Regions from separate parts of the Homo sapiens genome. Here region 1 is linked to region 2. The links are contacts of gene promoters, found by promoter capture Hi-C in human tissues and cell types (Jung and others, 2019). All regions are on one chromosome and are shown on one strand. The core of a region is centred on a gene start or on the middle of the fragment in contact, and the rest is flanking DNA. Distances in the headings are between cores, read along the strand shown.

Evidence for each region. The method cuts DNA at HindIII sites, captures the fragments that hold promoters and counts their contacts. A contact is called where the count stands out against the background at its distance.
Region 1: a fragment that was not itself captured here is called in contact with the fragment with the promoter of MAPK13 in region 2 in 8 of the 25 tissues and cell types used here (H1 embryonic stem cells, adrenal gland, bladder and 5 more).

What each region holds. Positions count from the first base shown.
Region 1 is chr6:36,207,845-36,210,544 of GRCh38, forward strand. BRPF3 (bromodomain and PHD finger containing 3) reads left to right here. Exons shown (of 13, transcript NM_015695.3): 5 at 1,943-2,071; 6 at 2,372-2,684. Among named protein-coding and RNA genes, the nearest start is that of BRPF3-AS1, 12 kb to the left of the region's middle. The HindIII fragment of the contact is 5,603 bases long and covers 1-2,700 here.
Region 2 is chr6:36,129,182-36,131,881 of GRCh38, forward strand. MAPK13 (mitogen-activated protein kinase 13) reads left to right here and starts at 1,332. Exons shown (of 12, transcript NM_002754.5): 1 at 1,332-1,520; 2 at 2,090-2,219. The coding sequence starts at 1,402. RefSeq lists silencers at 1,228-1,477, 1,518-1,587, 2,228-2,337 and enhancers at 1,483-2,086, 1,978-2,097. The HindIII fragment of the contact is 28,110 bases long and covers 1-2,700 here.

The DNA of each region.
Region 1 (2,700 bases), core at 121-2,620, 79 kb after region 2:
TCCTGAATCATTTACATTTTCTGTTTCTCCTCTGTTCTAGGAGATTTTAAGCCCTTGAGCATAGGAAATGTTGAGGTAGGTAGTGTAGCATAGTGTTTAGGAACATGAGCTATGGCACCAGACTGCCTGGGTTGAAATCCTGCCTCTTCTACAGACTACCTGTATGACATTAAGCAAATTCTTTAATCGCTTAATACATTGGTTTTCTCACCTGGAATATGGGGGTAATTATAGAGCCTACATCATAAGGTTGTTTTGAGGATTAGATGACTTCATCATGTAAAGAGCTTAGAACAGTGCCTGGCACATAGTAACAGCCAGAGAAATGTCAGCTGCTGTCATTATTATTATTATCAATACTCTTTGCTTCTCTGAAGTGTCTACTGCACATGGCAGAGAGCAAATACTGTTAATTAAGTGGATGAAAAGCCAAAACTGTTCTCTCTGGTCTAGGAATAGCAGCTGTCACTCACATGCTTCAGAGGCCAGGGTTAAAGATGTTCCTTTCTTGCCGGGCACAGTGGCTCATGCCTGTAATCCCTGCATTTAGGGAAGCAGAGGCAGGAGGATAGGTTGAGTCCAGGAGTTTGAGATGAGCCAGGGCAACAAAGCAAGACCTGTTCTCCACAAAAAGGGGAAAAAAAAAAGATGTTTCTTTCTCTTTCTCCAAATTCTAATTCAGTGGTCAGCCTTAGCACAACCCCTTTTCTAGCAGGCCAGTAGCCTGAGTTTCCTCCTCATAGCCTGGGCAGCTCATGCCATATTTACCATGGATGGCCATGGAGGACATCTCAGGACCTTCTTCAAGGGTTCAAAATGTCTGTGCTGTCCCAGGCATGATCCCACAGCTGAACTTCTCATCTCATCTCTGGTTCAGAGAAATGAGAGAGAGAAGAAGGCCTGGTCCTGGGGAAGTAGGCAGGCCTGTTTTGATATAGCCAAAAGGTGGAAATTTTCTATAGTCTTAATTTGTGGCTTCCCAACTTTTCACATTAGGGCATATGTAGAAAATAGCATTTGTACAGCATACTACTGTAAGTATATGAAGCTACTTGCCACTTGCGGGGGCAAGCCTGGAGGCCCTGGTGACCCCATGCTGACCCAGATGCTCCAAGGGCTGATGGAATCAGTATCTCAGCACACTGGGAAATTCTGGTTCAAGCACATTTTACATCATCATTGTGTCCCTTGGACTAAGTCAGACCTGGGTTCAAATCCTATCTCTATTCTTTTCTAGACAGATGACCTTAGACTAGTAACTCCTTCATCATGCTGTCTCTAAACCTCAGATTCCATATACATTTTTTTAATTTGTATTTTTTTTCTTTTAGTCCTTGGTGATCCTTGTTCTGATCCATATTTGTAAAATGGGGATAATAATTTCTGTTTCAGGGTTATCGTGATGATTAATTGAGGTAATACAAGTACAGAGTTAGTGTGGCATAATGGCCAAGAGCACTCACTGTAGAATCACTGGGACTGAATCCCAACTCTGCTCCTTATTAGCTATGACTTTAGGCCAGTTACTTAGTTTCCTCTAGTTTCCTCCTAGTTCCTTAGTTACTTGGTTTCCTCTTTGTAAAATACCTCATCTGTTCCTACCTCATATACTCATTTATTTTACATAAAATGCTTAGAACATTACCTGGCATTTAGTAAGGGCTATAGAAGTGTTAATGATTATAATTGTAATGATAATTATTATTGTTACTGTAAATTTTAGTATGATGTTTGGTACATAGGAAACAATAATAAAATAGTAGCTGTTGGTGTCATTATTCCTAGGCTAAAGGTTGGGTGATAGCTTCTCATATACTGGTCAGCTTAATATTCTATGAAAATTTGTTGTACAAGATTGGTAAAAGTCAAACTATCAAGAAAAAGTTTCAGTACATCTTTGCAGGGGATGTTCTGATCTGATCTCACCCCACCTTCCCCACAGGTCAAAGTCCAGCAGGCTGCCATGGAGCTGGAGCTGATGCCATTCAATGTTCTGTTGAGGACAACACTGGACCTGCTGCAGGAGAAGGATCCTGCACACATCTTCGCAGAACCAGTCAACTTGAGTGAGGCAAGTTCCCCCTACTTTCCAAGTAGTAAATTCTTCTTGAACTGGAACAGGGTCTGAGTAGGCTAGGAAGGAGTTGGGCCACAGGGTGTACAAAACCAGGGGTAGGAGGGTGGGTCTGGCAAAGCTAGTAGACTTGCCCTTGATGAGGGGTCAGCAGGCCAGGGTGGGCCAGGACTGTAGGTCTTTGAGTTAGCCTGGCATGGCCAAATCAGAAATTGAGGAGGCCAAGAGTATTGGTGAAGGGTGTGTCTGTTTGGCTAGTAAATGGTTGTTGTAATTGTACAGGTTTTATATGTTTAGGTTCCAGATTACCTGGAATTCATATCCAAGCCAATGGATTTTTCTACTATGAGGCGGAAGCTGGAGTCCCACCTGTACCGCACCTTGGAGGAGTTTGAGGAGGACTTTAACCTTATAGTTACCAACTGCATGAAGTATAATGCTAAAGACACAATTTTCCACCGAGCAGCTGTCCGCCTGCGGGACCTGGGAGGGGCCATCCTACGGCACGCCCGGCGGCAGGCAGAGAACATCGGCTATGACCCCGAGAGGGGCACTCACCTGCCCGAGTCACCCAAATTGGAAGACTTTTACCGCTTCTCCTGGGAAGACGGTGAGAGGCCTGGATG
Region 2 (2,700 bases), core at 82-2,581:
CCAGCCTGGCCAACATGGTGAAACCCCGTCTCTACTAAAAATACAAAAATTAGCTAGGAGTGGTGGTGTGCACCTGTAGTCCCAGCTACTCAGGAGGCTGAGGCAAGAGAATTGCTTGAACCTGGGAGGCGGAGGTTGCAGTGAGCTGAGATGGCGCCACTGCACTCCAGCCTAGGCAATAGAGTGAGACTCCATGTCAAAAACAAACAAAAATCCTGCACATTTGAACCTGCGTGGATATTTGGTATTATAGAATTAGTGCTATTAATTTTAGGTTTAAGAATGTATTGTGGGCCAGGCGCGGTGGCTCACGCCTGTAATCCCAACACTTTCGGAGGCCGAGGCGGGTGGTTCACGAGGTCAGGAGTTCAAGACCAGCCTGGCCAAGATGGTGAAACCCCATCTCTATTAAAAATACAAAAATTAGCCGGGTTTGGTGGCAGGCACCTACAATCCTAGCTAATCGGGAGGCGGAGGCAGAGAATTGCTTGAACCCGGGAGGCGGAGGTTGCAGTGAGCCGAGATGGCAACTGCACTCCGACAGAGTCTCAAAAAATATATATATATAGTATTGTGGATACGTACTTTTAAAAATCCTTACGTTTTAGAGATACAAAAATATTTATGAATAAAATGATATGACGCCTGGGTTTTGCTTCAAAACGATGGTGGGAGAGGAATGTGGATGAAATAAAATTGATTATGAGTTGTGGTTGCTGGGGAATTGGGGTCACGGGGGTTCATTAGAACCTCCTATCAGATGTGGTTCAGAAGCCTCAGACCTGGGAGCTGGCTAGAAATGCAGAATCTCGGCTCCACCCCAAACCTACTGAGTCAGGATCTGTATTTTAATCAAATAAAATGCCCAGGGGATTCCTGAGCACACTGAAGTGTGAGAAGCGCTGGCTTACTCTGTTCAATTCTTTCCTGCATGTTTGACATTTTCCATAATGAAGAGGTTGTGGGGTTTTGTTCTGCTTTCCTGTGTGTTCACAGTCACAGGGAGCTCTTCCTACGGAGACCGGGGCTGGAGGGAACTGGGAAGCACTGCCTCCCCGCTCCTGCTTGGACCCACCAGCCCCGCCGCTGGCCCGCGCTCGGCTGGGAGGCACCGGGGTCCCGCTGGGCAGCCCCGACCCCGTGCCTGGGCCGCACCTGCCGCAGTGGCTCCGTCGGGCCGGGCGGAAGCGCGGGAGCGCAGGGCTGGACAGGCCCGGGCGTGGCGGCCCCGGCGCACCTGGGCGAGCCGGCAGGTGGGAGCGTAGCAGCCCGGGGCCCCCGCCCTCGCGCGGGGGAGGAGCGGGCGGCGCGGGGCGGGCGCAGCGGGGGTCGGGGCGCTGGGAGCCCGTTGGGCCGCGAACGCAGCCGCCACGCTGGGGCCGCCGAGATCGGGTGCCCGGGATGAGCCTCATCCGGAAAAAGGGCTTCTACAAGCAGGACGTCAACAAGACAGCCTGGGAGCTGCCCAAGACCTACGTGTCCCCGACGCACGTCGGCAGCGGGGCCTATGGCTCCGTGTGGTGAGACCCCTGGGCCGCTGGGGGGCGGGGGGCGGGCGCCAGGCTCTCCCCTTTCCGCCCAGCCCGCCCTGGGCTGGCCCCTCGCCAGCGCCACCTTGACCGCGGACCTCAAGGCCCAGCGCCCTCCCCGGGGCCACCCAGCGGCCATCTCCCTTTTCTCACCGAGTGGCTGAGTGAGGTCTCTGGGGGTTGAGTTGGGACTGGGCCTGGTTCTCCAGGACTGTACACTTGCAAGACCCCAGAGTTCATCGGGCAGATCCTCACTGTTACAGACGAGTACACCGAGGCCCCAAGAGGGGGAGGTGGCTCGCCAAGTTGCAGACAGAGTGAGACTCCCGCCCTGCCGTGGATCCCGTCGCAATGAGACGTTGCTGCCCCTGGCGCTGTGCCCCTCTCTCAGCTCCTGCCTGGCTTCCTACTCCCTGCCCTGCGTCCCGCGGCTCCCCCATATTCTAGGTGGTGGGCCTAGTCCCCTCTCAGCCCAGCTGCCCAGTGGGAGGGGTCAGGGCGGTCTGGGAGATACGGCCCAGGAGGAGAGCCTCGCCTGCTGACCGGCCTGTGCCCGACAGCTCGGCCATCGACAAGCGGTCAGGGGAGAAGGTGGCCATCAAGAAGCTGAGCCGACCCTTTCAGTCCGAGATCTTCGCCAAGCGCGCCTACCGGGAGCTGCTGCTGCTGAAGCACATGCAGCATGAGAACGTAGGTGGTGGCTGCCCCGGGGAGGGGGTGGGGGCTGCCCTGGGGAGTCAGGGGCAGGCGCAGGCGGGGCCTCCCGGTATGGAGAGCTCGGGACAGTCTCCTCCCTGCTCCCCTGACGGTGCCTCTCGCCTCACTATTGAAAGGAGGGGGTGCCGAGACCTTCCCTGCCCACTTTCCAGGAAGAGGTCAAAGGGTATTTTTGGCAGAATGCACTTTGTGAGGTACAGACTGTGTTATCCTACAGAGGAAATTGGCACAGGGGAACTTTGTAATTGGTTCCATGTCTGAGAGCTTGTGGCCAGCTGGGACTAGAATCCTAGTTAGCGTTGTGTCCACGTGACCCTGATAACAATAGCAATATACACATATTGAGCACTTCCTATGTTCTAAGAGCTCTGCATACACTAACTTGTCTAGTCCTCATGATATATGAGTACTACTGCCCCCATGTCACAGACAGGAAACTAAAGCACAGCAAGGC